Linked DNA regions of Homo sapiens: region 2 is linked to region 1. Evidence: promoter capture Hi-C in 16 types of primary human blood cells and fetal thymus (Javierre and others, 2016). All regions are on one chromosome and are shown on one strand. The core of a region is centred on a gene start or on the middle of the fragment in contact, and the rest is flanking DNA. Distances in the headings are between cores, read along the strand shown.

Region 1 (6,481 bases), core at 1,916-4,415:
TGCCCCCACACCTAAGCTAATGTTTCAATTTTTTGTAGAGACGGTGTCTTGCTGTGTTGCGTTGGTTGGTCTTGAACTCCTGGCCTCAAGTGATCCTCCCACCCCGGCCTCCAAAAGTGCTGGAATTACAGGAGCGGGCCACCGTGCCCAACCTAATTTATTTTCTTTTAGCAACTTTGAACTATGAGCATACTGGGGAGGGAAACCTCTAAGCGGAACTTCTTTCCCGTATGGTTATCCACTCTCAGGCAATTTTCCTCCATTATTTTGGAGAGAATTTATTCTATAACCCTGAAGACGAGTGCAGCGCTCCTTCACAACACACACGTGAGCTGGGGCTGTAGCAGGTGGCCTGCCGACCAGCGTCTCCCCAACCCCCACAACATGCACTCAAAGTAAACAACAGCATTAGACAATTAGAAACCTACTTCCAGTCAACCTTACGCTCACTGAGGCCACTGCAGCACCGCCAGCCACGTCTCCAAAGCAGGCGATGGGAAAGAAAGAAGGAGTCTCCAAAATGAGCACCCCTGAACCTCCCTCAGATGCAGCCTGGCCCAGAGACAAACCTCGAGACGGGACTCGGACCCAAAATCCTCCTCCGAGGTCGTTGCAGGGGACAAACCTCCCTGCCTCAGAGACAACTCTGGGGAAGAGGCAGCCAACCCACTCGCTCACCTAAAAATCCCTGGCAGGGGCAAAACTAACACCCAGGGACACATGGACCAATGGCTGCCCATGGCCAGGGCTGGGATGAAGGCCACGGAGCAGGGAGCACCCCGGCTCATGAACACGGGACACCTCAGCATCAGAACTCATCAAATGGACACGAAAGGGGTGTATTTCATGGAATGCAAATCACACCTCAATAAGGTTGACTTAAAAACTAACAGGCGGGCCAGGCGCGGTGGCTCACGCCTGTAATCCCAACACTTTGGGAGGTCAAGGTGGGTGGATCATGAGGTCAAGGGATCGAGACCATCCTGGTCAACATGGTGAAACCTGGTCTCTACTAAAAATACAAAAATTACCTGGGTATGGTGGCAGGCACCTGTAGTCCCAGCTACTCAGGAGGCTGAGGCAGGAGAATCACTTGAACCCAGGAGTCAGAGGCTGCAGTGAGCCGAGATTGTACCACTGCACTCCAGCCTGGCGACAGAGCAAGACTCTGTCTCAAAAAAAAACAAAACAAAACTAACAGGCAAAGAAGCAGGTACGTGATTACTCAGTGACCAGAGTCAGAAGCAGAGTTCTTGACACCAGCTGCCTGGACTCCTTCTCTCCACCCCTCCACCAGGCCCTCTTCATAGGAAGAGCAGCAGACACCTTCCAATCTGCCCGGACAGAGAGGCTGGGATCACCCAGAAGAAAGAAAAATTTCAGACGTTTTTGGCCTTAGAATGCAGCTGTGAGACCTCATTTCCTCTGAAAACTCACCCTCCCAATTATGTCTGCCTTCAACAACTGTTAAAATTAATTTCAATTTCCTTAGCCTAATACAAATACAAAGAGGAAGTTGGGGAGAGGAACAAGACAGTCTCCAGAGAGAGTGACTTCCTATTTAAATAAGGCAGGCCAGGCGCCGTGGCTCAGCTTGTAATCCCAGCCCTTTCAGAGGCCCAGTGGGGAGGGATGCTTGAGGCCAGGAGTTCGAGACCAGCCTGGGCAACAAAGTGAGACAACCCCCCACTCCCCTGTCTCTACAAAAAATACAAAAAAAACAATTAGCCGGGTGTGGTGGTGCGCCTGTGGTCCCAGCTACTCGGGAGGCTGAGATGGGAGGATCACCTGAGCCCAGGAACGTGGAGACTGCGGTGAGCTGTCATGTCATCATGCACTTCAGCCTGGACCACAGAGCAAGACCCTCTCTCAAAACAACAAAGAAAAACTATACAACATGAAAAAGGAGGGCAGGAACGGCTCCTCTCCACAGGCAGGCCTAGGCCAGTGCCCAGCTGAGAGGTCCCTGCTAAGTACCCATGTGGAACATCATGCAAGGAGGCGGATCTGGAGATTTTCTCTGAGATTCTGTGCTCCAACCCCACCGTTTTTCTGGAAAAATAATCTCACCCTAAGAAGTGACTTGCCTGCAGCCACGTACCCCATCCACGGCAGAGTGGGACGCTGGCCCAGCAGGGAGGTGTGGACCCTGCTGCTCCCCCGGCCTCAACCAGAAACCCCAAAGGAGAAACCCTCTTCTCCGGGTGCAGCCCAGGAAAGCAAGCCCCCAACTTACCAGAAGAGTATCCGCAAAATGTTGGCCACCAGCAGCACCAGGCACACGTAGGTGGAGAAGCCGTCGGCGTTCTGCGTCCTGCGAATGTCCCGATACTGCGGGACGTAGGGCACCACCCCTCCGAAGACCATGGCCGCGGCCGCGCCCCAGGACACCAGCTGGTGCAGTGGCACCAGGAGCCAGTCCAGGCCCTCGGCCTCCATCGCAGCGCCCGCCTGGCCGAGGCTGTCACGGGCTCCGCGCCCCGCGGGCCACCGGCCGCCTGCTCATCGCCGCTCCGCGCGCTCCTGCGGCCTCGGGGCCTGCGGGGAGCGGGGAGCTGCTCGAGTTCCGCCCAGGGAGGCTGGGGCGGCGCGCACGGACCCGACCCGACCCGCGCCAGCCGCAGGACCCGAGGCAGAGCGGGGGCGACCGGGGCCCGGGGCGCGCGAGGAGCGGCCCCTGCCTGGGACGGGGGGGTGTCTGGGGGTCCCGAGACGCTCCCGGAGGGGGCTGGGGAGGGGTCCCAGCGCCGGGGTCGAGGACGGGCGAAGCCCCTGGGGTCACCGCCCGGGTGCGCTTAGCCGGCGGGGGTCCACGCGCGCCCCGGGATGGGGTGGGGGAGGGGGCGCAGGGCCCAGGATCGGGGCGCACTGTTCGGGGGAGGGTCACAGGGCCTAGCATGGGGGCGCACGGCTCGGGGGAAGGGGGCGCAGGCCCAGGATGGGGGCGCACGGCTCGCGGGAGGAGGTGCCGGGCCGGGGACCCCACAGGACCAAGCCAGGGGACTGAAGGCCGCGACCAACTGCCCCGGCCCTGCGTCCTCGGCCGCCCTAGGCCGCCCCCCGAGGACCCCGCGCCGCCCCCGCGCTCCTTACCTGCGCCCCCAGCCCCGCGCCCAGCGCCCCGCGTCCCCGCGCCGCTGACCCGCGCGCGTCTCGGCGTCAGTCCGCTCAGGCGCCGGGAAACCCCGCCCCGTGACGTCACAATGCCGGGCCCCGCCCACGCCGGAGCTGCGCGGAGGCGCCGCGGTGTCCTAGAGCGCGCTGGGCAGGGCGGGCGCAGGCGGGGCCGGGAGCCGGGGCTGTCGGGGCGGTGGGGGCGCGTGGCTCCTCCCGCCCGGTCGGGAAATACCAGCCGGGCGGGGCCGGTCCCTCAGGCCTGGCGCCCACGTTAACCCGTCTCCAGCTGTCCCGGCGCGCGGCCATCCAAGCGGAGGGCGTCGTCCTGGAGGGCCGGGGGCGCGGGGTCCGGACGCCCCTCTCACGCGTGTCCTGAATGCGGGCCACCCGGGGACGAGTCTCGTCCAGCTCTGTCCTGACCCAGGAGACCCGGGGACCCGGCTCGGAGTTTGCAGCGCCCAGAGGCGGCCGGGGTCTCGGGAAACGGAGCGCCCCCCGCGGGTCTCCGCTCCGATGCAAGTGCCCCACGAGCAGATGCGCCGGGGCCGTCGCCGGGGGGCCGGCTGGACGCGCGGCCGTCACCGTGGCCATTGTCATTATCGTGGTTGCGGCCACGGTCGCTGTCGCTGCAGAAACGCGGGGCGGCCTCTCCCCATCCCCGTGTAGTTCTCCGGGCTGAACCGTTGGGCGCCTATTTGCAGAAAAGGCAGCTCCTGAGCCTCAAGACAGACTCGGGGGCCAGGCGTGCGTGAAGCCCGGGCCCTGCTGCCGGCCTCGCGTGCCAAGCCAACTCCGAGCCCCACACCCGCCCGCGGGGAGCTGCCCTCGCCCGGGACCCTCTTGGCCCGCGCGGGTGAGGACTGAGGGCGAGGGGCGCGTGGATGAGGGGCGCGCGGGTGAAGAGTGAGGGGAGCGCGGGTGAAGTGTGAGGGGAGCGCGGGTGAGGGGTGAGGGGCGCGCGGGTGAGGGGTGAGGGGAGCGCGGGTGAGGGGTGAGGGGTGAGGGGAGCGTGGGTGAGGGGTGAGGGGTGAGTGATGCGCGAGTGAAGGGTGAGGGGCGCCTGGGTGAGGGGTGAGGGGTGAGGGGCGCGCCGGTGAAGGGTGAGGGGAGCGTGGGTGAGGGGTGAAGGGTGCGCGAGTGATGGGCGGGTGTGTGTAGGGTGAGGGACGCGTGGGTGAGGGGCGCGGGGGTGTGAGGCGAGGGGTGCACGGGTAAGGGGCGAGCCGCGAGGTTGAGGGGTCCACGCTGAGGGTTGCTTCCCCGCCAGCCGCGGCCTCTTCTCCACGATCCCGGCCCCCTGCCCCCTGCCCCCTGCCCGACTGGTTTTATGGGGGATCATAAGGACAGTCACCACCTAACTAGGAGCAAATCCCCAACAATCGAGGAAACAGGGCGCTCCTGCCTTGCGCCCCCAGGCTGGCGTTGGAACTTCTTTAGAGCCAGCGCTGCGGAGCCCCAGCACCAGGAACGTAGAGGTGAGTAAAAGGCACAGCAGGAAGCCTGGGAGAGAAAAAGCAGCTGCCCCTGCTCAGCCGCGCCCTAGCCTGAGCCCAGCAGCCTTTGGGATCATCTGTCCTCTCTGCCCTGGAGGTTGGAGTAAGCTCCGGACCTCCTTGACCCTCACGGGAGCACTGGGGTCCCAGACGCTATCCTCGGTTATCTTAAATCCAGAGGCTGTGGAGGCATGGGGCAAATTGTGCCCGCAGCCTGGGGCCTAGAGCTGCATCTGTGCACGGGGCCTCCAGGAGCCCGGCTCAGTGGACGAAATCTGGCATGCTCGGACGTCACCCCACAGGCCTCACGCCTCAGAGGCACCCCGAAAGGTGAGTTGATGACTGCAGAGTGAGTTTGTACCTTTTCGAACACCACCTGCCGGGGGTCCGAGCCCCCACCCCCAGTCTACATCAGCCAATCACAGCTCATTGCAGGTGCTGCGCTTGTCACATAGCTTCCTGCAAACAAGAGAAGCCGACCAAGCCATGCACAGCTGGAAAATGGCCCTTATAAAGCCATCAAGTCCTAATCCAGGCAACCTGTAAATATTACCTCGTATGGGAAAACAATTTTTTTTTCTAATGTCATTAAGGATCTTGAGATAGAGAGATTGTCCTGGATTATCCAGGTGGGCCCTAAACACTGTGGCTCACGCCTATAATCCCAGCACTTTGGGAGCCTGAGGCAGGTAAATCTCTTGAGCCCAGGAGTTCGAGACCAGCCTGAGCAACATGGTGAGACCTCGTCTCTACAAAAGATAGAAAAATTATCTGGGCATGGTAGTGTGCACCTGTAGTCCCAGCTACTCCTGAGGTGGAAGGATTGCTTGAGGCCAGGAGGTTGAGGCAGCAGTGAGCCAGGATCGCACCACTGCACTCTAGCCTCGGTGACAAAGTGAGACCCTATCTCAAAAATAAATACATACAACAGAGACAGGGTCTCTGTGTTGGCCAGGCTGGTCTTGAACTCCTGGCCTCAAGCGATCCTCCTGCCTTGGCCTCTCAAAGTGCTGGGATGACAGGCATGAGCCAGCGTGCCCGGCCACATGCATCTTTGTAAGAGGGAGGCAGAAGGAAATTTGGTGCCACACAGAAGAGAGGGCCATGGGAAGATGGAGCAGAGATGAAGATGGGGCCTTGAAAATTGACGTGATGCAGTCCCAAGCCAAGTAACGCCGGAGCCACCAGAGGCCCCAGAAACAAGGAGCAGATTCTCCCCAGGAGCCATGCGAGGGAGCCTGGCCCTGCCAATGCCTTGATTTCAGCACATTAAAAGTGATTTTGGACTTTTGGCCTCCAGAGCTGTGAAGGAATAAACTTCTGCTGTTGTAAAAGCCACTTAGCTGTGGTCATTTGTTGCAGGAGCCAATGAGTGACTGACAAGATCAGAGCTGTGACACAGAGGAAGCAGAGCTGTGCCTCATGCTTTCCAGGCTCTGCTCATGAGAAACAGGTCACTGGGTTGGCCCGGTGCAGATTAAGGTGTCACGTAGGAGCATGAATACCTCAGGGAACCACTTAAGAATTTGCCTAACACATGGTGCTTATAAAAGGAAAAGCAAACAAAGCAACCTTGTTCTGAGAGCTGGGACATCAGAGGAAGATTGGAGCCACTGTTTCTCACTCAGCCTATTTCTTTTTATTTTATTTATTTATTTTATAGAGACGGGGAGCTCACTATGTTGGCCAGTTTGGTCTTTGAACTCCTGGCTTCAAAGGATCCTCTCACCTAGGCCTCCCAAAGTGCTGGGATTACAGGAGTGAGCCACCTTGCTGGTCGCGCACCCCATTTTTTAAGGAAACCTGTACGGAAGGTGGATTGGAAGTCTCACTTTAGGAGCCTGGCTCAGAAGTTCCGCAACTTCAACTGG
Region 2 (6,481 bases), core at 3,250-5,749, 90 kb after region 1:
TACAATATATGGCTCCCATTCTGAAAAATAAATACATCACGTTTCCAAAAAATTACTGAATTATTCCCTTTAGCACGGTGAACTTTATGGTATGTGAATTATATCTCAACAAAAACTTTTTTTGAGAAAATATTTACTGGCAGTACTTTTAATCTTGGAGGGTTACCAGGTAAAATTTAAAAGGATCCCGGTTTATAAAACTTTATCTTAATGAAAGCTGAGGCAGCTGAGAGTGATAGCTGCTGTTGATCTGGTTGCCCATCCAGCCCTCCCCCAGCCCCTGCTGTGTGACTTGGTGAGTTTGGAGTTGTAACGCTGCCCTTGGGGTGTGCTCTTCTTCCTGATGGAGACTTACAAACCATCCAAGTTGGAATTCCTCATGAGGAGCACCTCAAAGAAAACCAGGAAGGAAGACCATGCGCGCCTGAGGGCCCTGAACGGCCTCCTCTATAAGGCACTGACAGACCTGCTGTGTACCCCTGAAGTGAGTCAGGAGCTGTATGACCTTAACGTGGAGCTCTCCAAGGTAGGCTGTGTGGCCAAAGAGAAGAAATGGGTTGAGACAGCAGGCCTGGCACTTACTTTACCTGGCCCAGTCTTGCCTGACAATTAAAAAAAGACGCTTTAGACTGGGCGCGGTGGCTCACGCCTGTAATCCTAGCACTTTGGGAGGCTGAGGCGGGCGGATCACGAGGCCAGGAGATTGAGACGATCCTGGCTAACACAGTGAAATCCCATCTCCACTAAAAATACAAAAACTTAGCCGGGCATGGTGGCGGGCGCCTGTAGTCCCAGCTACTCGGGCGGCTGAGGCAGGAGAATCGCTTGAACCCAGGAGGCGGAGGTTGCAGTGAGCTGAGGCCGCGCCTCTGCACTCCACCCTGGGTGACAGAGCGAGACTCCATCTCAAAAAAAAAAAAAGCCACTTTAGCACTTATGAAGTCTTAGTTCTGGGTTGCAGAAATAGAAATGATGCTCAGTCTGGTCATTGGAGCCCTGGAGACAGATGGTGAGTGTCTGTGCTGTGCAGAGGCAGATGTCTCACTGCAAGGCGGGAGTCCTGTGACCAAACAGCACCTGGCACATTGTCAGATAGTAGAAGGTCTAAGCCTGCCGTGGGAAGAGGATGCATCTGCATGTACCTCAGTACAGAGGTACAGGAGATGACTTCCTCTGACCCACTCAGTGAGTTGTAAGGAGAAAAGGCAGCATCGAGCATTTTTGATTAGTGTCTCAGGGCAAGTGGCTGTGAGGCAAGCGTGGGGTCAGGGTTCCGGTTTGGTTCTGCAAACCAGGTGGTTTGGTTTGCGGGTCCTGGTGAAGAGAGGAGGGAGGTTTTGGTTTCTGGGGCCCTACTTCACCTGGGGACATGGTGCGGCAGCAGGAGGTGGCCTCCAGCAGCATGCCAGAGCCCTGGCTTGGGTGGGAGGGGCGTCTGCAGCTGTCGTTTTCATCTCCTGGATGTTGTTTGTCTTGAAAACCCATGTAAGCTAAAAAGTGACCTGTGGAGGGGCGGGGTCTCAGGTTTCCCTGACTCCAGACTTCTCAGCCTGCCGAGCGTACTGGAAGACAACGCTCTCTGCTGAGCAGAACGCACACATGGAGGCTGTCCTGCAGAGAAGTGCCGCGCACATGAGGTGATGACCTTTGCTTTCTGAATGTACTTGCTTTTTGCTCATACCCTAAATTTCTCAGCTGTTTCACTTGTAGGTGGACTTGAACTTTTCATTGAGTATTTTTGCTTTTAAAGAAAATTTTGGAGGCATTTTCTTGAAGTTCATAGTATAATTTGCATTTTTGTATAAGCTATAATGTAGGTTAGCATTTATTAAAGTGTGCCAGGATCACTAGGGATCTGGAGATCCTGTCAGGGAGTTCATTAGGGTAAGACGTTATTTCACCTCTCCTGCTGTGTTGACATTTGCACTGAGGGTACAGAAACCATGAGGGAAGACTGCTGGTGCCATGCTGCCAGCCAGTGCTGTAGGGGCGCCATGCCACATGCCTAGAGTAAAAGACAATGTTACTTTTACTTAAGAATATCCCAGATGAGGCTGGACATGGTGCCTCTCACCTGTAATCCCCGCAACTCGGGATGCCGAGGCGGGAGGATCACTTGAGGCCAGGAGTTCAGGACCAGTCTGGGCAAGATGGCGAGACCCTGTCTCTACAAAAAATTAAAAAATTAACCAGGCACAGTGGCAGCACACGCATATAGTCCCACCTACTCAGGAGGCTGAGGTGGGAGGTATCCCCTGGATTCCTATCAGCCCAGGAATTTGAGGTGGCAGTGAGCCGTGTTAATGTACCTGCATTCCAGCCTGGGCAACGGAGCAAGACCCTGTTTCTCAAAGAAAAATTAAAAAATCCGAGACAGTTTATCAAAAATTATTAATTGTATTAAATCTTGACCCTTGAGCATGCCTTTTTCATATTTTTTGTAATGGGAAGTACATGTAAATCACCTGCTGTCTGGAGAATGCTGAACAGAAAAGCATCAGTGAGCAGACTGTTTAGGTTTGGGTGTTTGGCAGACATTCTTTCAAAAATAAGCGAGTGAACCTACCACTCCGGAGCAAACAACAGACCATATCTGTTGCCAGTGATAAAATTTAAGCTTTCAAGTGAAAATCAGAATTTTAGGAAACTTGTATTCACCACTGTGAGCTTGACAACTTCTAGGTACTTGAGACTCTTCTGATGAGATTGGCAGCGACCTTAACAAACGTGCTGTTGTATGATAAACTGTGTCAATGCTTTTAAAATCTGCATAACTAGGTGAGCTGTTGTTTTCCAAATGACCAGTGCATGAGGTTACAAAACCATACGCTGAGAGATCAATTCAAAGTGTGAGCCAGATGGTGAGTTTTAATGTAGCAGAGTGTGACAGGTTGGTTGGGTGTGGTTTCAGATTCCTCATTGCAACTATTTATATGTTTATTTATTTGAGATGGAGTCTTGCTCTGTCGCCCAGGCTGGAGGGCAGTGGAGTGATACTGGCTCACTGCAACCTCTGCCTCCCGGGTTCAAGTGATTCTCATGCCTCAGCCTCCTGAGTAGCTGGGGTTACAGACGCCCGCCACCATGCCCAGCTAATTTTTGTATTTTTAGTAGAGATGAGGTTTCACTATATTGGCCAGGCCGGGACAACTGACCTTTAATAAAGTACATTTGTTGAATTTTTGTGACAAAGAAGATCCATACTTTTCTCATGGCTGTTAAATTCTGTCTTTTCCAACACATAACTGGGAGGCCTGAATTTTTTTTTTTTTTTTTTTGCTTTTTTTGAGACAGGATCTCATTCTGTCTCCCAGGCTGGAGTGCAGAGACACAATCTTGGCTCCTGCAGCCTCAACCTCCCAGGCTCAAGTGATCTTCCTGCCTCAGCTTCCCATACAGCTGGAAGCACAGGTGCATGCCACCACACTTGGCTAATTTTGTATTTTTTGTAGAGATAGGATCTCTCTATGTTGTCTAGGCTGGTCTCCAACTCCTGGGCTTAAGCGATCCTCTGGCCTGAGCCTCCCAAAGTGTTGAGATTACAGGCATGAGCTACTGCGCTGGCTCTTCTTGTATTTCAGTGAGAGGAAGGACAGAGTGCAGAAGCAGCAGTGAGATCCCAGCTGTCTTCCATGAAGCTGGCCTTGGAGAATTTGCAAATACATAAACAATTCCATGCTTTTCATTGATTTTGTGGGGGGGAGTGTATATATATATTTTTTGTTAAAAATGTCTATGTAAGCATTTAGTGGGTTTTTAAGCGACTTTAAAAAGACGTAGCTTTTAGAGTTCTCAGTTTTAGTTTGTAGTATAGTAAATATTGATAGATAGAACCCACATAAACAAATGCTCTTTGGGATCTTCAGTAATTTTTAAGAATGTAAAGGATCCTGGGACCAACAATTTTGGGAATTGCTGAGCTGGATGATAATAAAGAAATTATTCAGTTTCCTCCTCAGTTTTAAAAAATGCAGAAATCCAAATCCAGCTCACTGTCCAGCTCTCTCAGAACTGGAATTCCTCCTTTCTGCCTCCCTTCTCATCATGCCCCATGTTTAGGGTGGGGACAGACGTAGAAAAGGTGGCCGTGTGTGGGCTTCGTTCCAGGCACCCTGCCTGGCTTCCCTGCATCATTACCACACACGATGATGCCCAGGGGTCTGTGAAACTGCATATCAGAGAATGCTTATTTCTTACTGTTTAACAAAAGCAAGAAAATGAGAGATTATTGACAAGTGTTGAAACAGCATTGTTTTCTGATTTTTAGGTATCAGAAAATTCAGTTGAGCTGAATGTCCCTCTTCCCAACTCCTGCGGTCACCCAAGATTTAGGGTCACCGTTTTCCATAGCTGTGTACCAAAGATCTGTGGTCACGGCTTTCGCTGGTTATATGTGCCGTGCCTACATTGGCCCTAGGTCTGTATTATGTGATGTGCATGATACAAATATCACTTCTGTGTCTAATATCTGGGAACCTGAGGGTTGTGTCGTGCCAGGGCGTGTCCACTGGGCACAGGAGGACAGGCTGTTAGTGCACAGACCCTGGAGCCCAAGGCTACGGCGATGAGTTCAGATCAGGTTATTTGTACAGATCGCACAAGTTGCGTTGAGAAAAGTCAAGGCAATTGCAGTTATGATGCATTTTGCATCCCTTTTTTGATGTGGTAGTTGACTAAAGATGACTCTTCTGGGCTGAGGTTTTCATTTTTGAGTAATACGATAAATCTCACTCCTGCCTCTTTTTTTTTTTTTTCTTTTTTTTTGAGACCGAGTCTTGTTCTTTCACCCAGGCCGGAGTGTAGTGGCACTATCTTGGCTCACTGCAAGTTCCGCCTCCCGGGTTCAGGCCATTCTTCTGCCTCAGCCTCCCGAGTAGCTGGGACTACAGGTGCCTGCCGCCACGCCTGGCTAATTTTTTGTATTTTTAGTAGAGACGGGGTTTCACCATGTTAGCCAGGATGGTCTCGATCTCCTGACCTCGTGATCCGCCCGCCTCGGCCTCCCAAAGTGCTGGGATTACAGGCGTGAGCCACCGCGCCCGGCCTCTCACTCCTGCCTCTTGGTTACATCTTGAATCATATGTTCAGCACTGTCACGCCTCTCCACTGAGTGTCACGGCACAGCTGTGAGGGTCTGTGCGTTCTGTCTCCTAGGCACCTTTTGATGTCCCAGCAGACCCTGAGGAATGTGCCACCGATAGTGTTTGTTCAAGACAAGGGAAATGCAGCTCTAGCTGAGGTAAGGTTTTCAAAAAAACTTTTTAAAATTTAAAAATTTTTATTTTTTTAATTAGAGACAGAGTCTTGCTATATTGTCCAGGCTAGTCTTGAACTCCTGGCCTCAAGGGATCCTTCTGTCTCAGCCTCCCAAAGTGCTGGGATTTATAGGTGTGAGCCACCGGGCCCAGGTAATAATTAACTTTTTATAACATAAACGCTTATATGAATAAAGTTTTAAATTTAAGTTTTAAATCCTGAAAAGATAATGTACAGTTAAAAAAGAGAAGAGGCCAGGTGCAGTGGCTCAAGCCTGTAATCCCAGCACTTTGGGAGGCCGAGGCAGGTGGATCACAAGGTCAGGAGTTAGAGACTAGCCTGGCCAATACGGTGAAACCCTGTCTCTACTAAAAATACAAAAAAATTAGCTAGGTGTGGTGGCGTGCGCCCGTAGTCTCAGCTGCTCGGGAGGCTGAGGCAGAAGAATCAGTTGAACCGGGAAGGCGGAGGTTGCAGTGAGCCGAGATTGTGCCACTGCACTCCAGGCAGCAGAGTGAGAGACTCCGTGTCAAAAAAAAAAAAGAGAAGAAACCACTGAGAAGGGAACAAATGAAAAGTAATGAAAGAAAGGTGCAAATGAAAAGGCTGTCCCTTTCTCCTGTGCCCCTGTTCCCAGCCAGGTCCCCAGAAGTAGTTGCTGTTTCTGGTTTTAATTTTTTTATGCTTATCACTGTAGCTCTAACTAGGGTATGAACTCAACACGGCCAGAGTTGCCCTCCCACGCCTGTCTCCCCCTCCCACCTCTCGAAATGGATCAGTCCACTTTCGTTTCACATTATTGGGGCTTATGAGACTTAGGTCTGTCCTGTAACCTTAAGTGCTTTTATTATCATTTTCCTTGCTTTAGAGATGGGTTAGCTATAAAGATTAAAAACATGTAAATATATACTTCTCTGGGTGGTGGTTACCTGGCAGTTATTAAGATATGTTATACCTTCAAAAAGTCAGTCAAAAATCAGCGAATAGCGTTTGCAGTATTATAGGTAACTGTTGTTCAGTATAGGACCAGACAGCATTTGGATCCACAGAAGAAAAAGATCCAGTTTGACATTTTTGGTTTTCGTTAATCAGTGTGTAGGTAACACTAAAAACATTGTACAAGTAATAAGCTTGACAGATTCGTGATTTCCCTTGCTAGAAAAAGAAACGAAGGAGTGAAGTTATAGTCCCTGCCGTAAGGAATCAGGGACAGTTCAGGTCATGG

The links. Contacts are between HindIII fragments. The CHiCAGO score rates a contact against its expected background, and 5 or more counts as called.
Region 2: a contact is called between a fragment that was not itself captured here and the fragment with the promoter of SLC66A2 in region 1, in 1 of 17 cell types (neutrophils). The highest score is 7.2, in neutrophils.

The regions. Positions count from the first base shown.
Region 1 is chr18:79,948,488-79,954,968 of GRCh38, forward strand. It overlaps SLC66A2 (solute carrier family 66 member 2), which reads right to left and starts at 3,166. Exons shown (of 6, transcript NM_025078.5): 1 at 3,094-3,166; 2 at 2,237-2,538. The coding sequence starts at 2,439. LOC124904336 (a long non-coding RNA gene) reads left to right here and starts at 4,322. Exons shown (of 2, transcript XR_007066429.1): 1 at 4,322-4,592; 2 at 4,789-6,481. RefSeq lists silencers at 2,448-2,567, 2,608-2,687, 3,008-3,517, 3,648-3,697. The HindIII fragment of the contact is 12,677 bases long and covers 1-6,481 here.
Region 2 is chr18:80,036,981-80,043,461 of GRCh38, forward strand. RBFA (ribosome binding factor A) reads left to right here. Exons shown (of 7, transcript NM_024805.3): 3 at 350-526; 4 at 1,525-1,637; 5 at 5,155-5,239. Among named protein-coding and RNA genes, the nearest start is that of RBFA, 5.8 kb to the left of the region's middle. The HindIII fragment of the contact is 3,769 bases long and covers 2,616-6,384 here.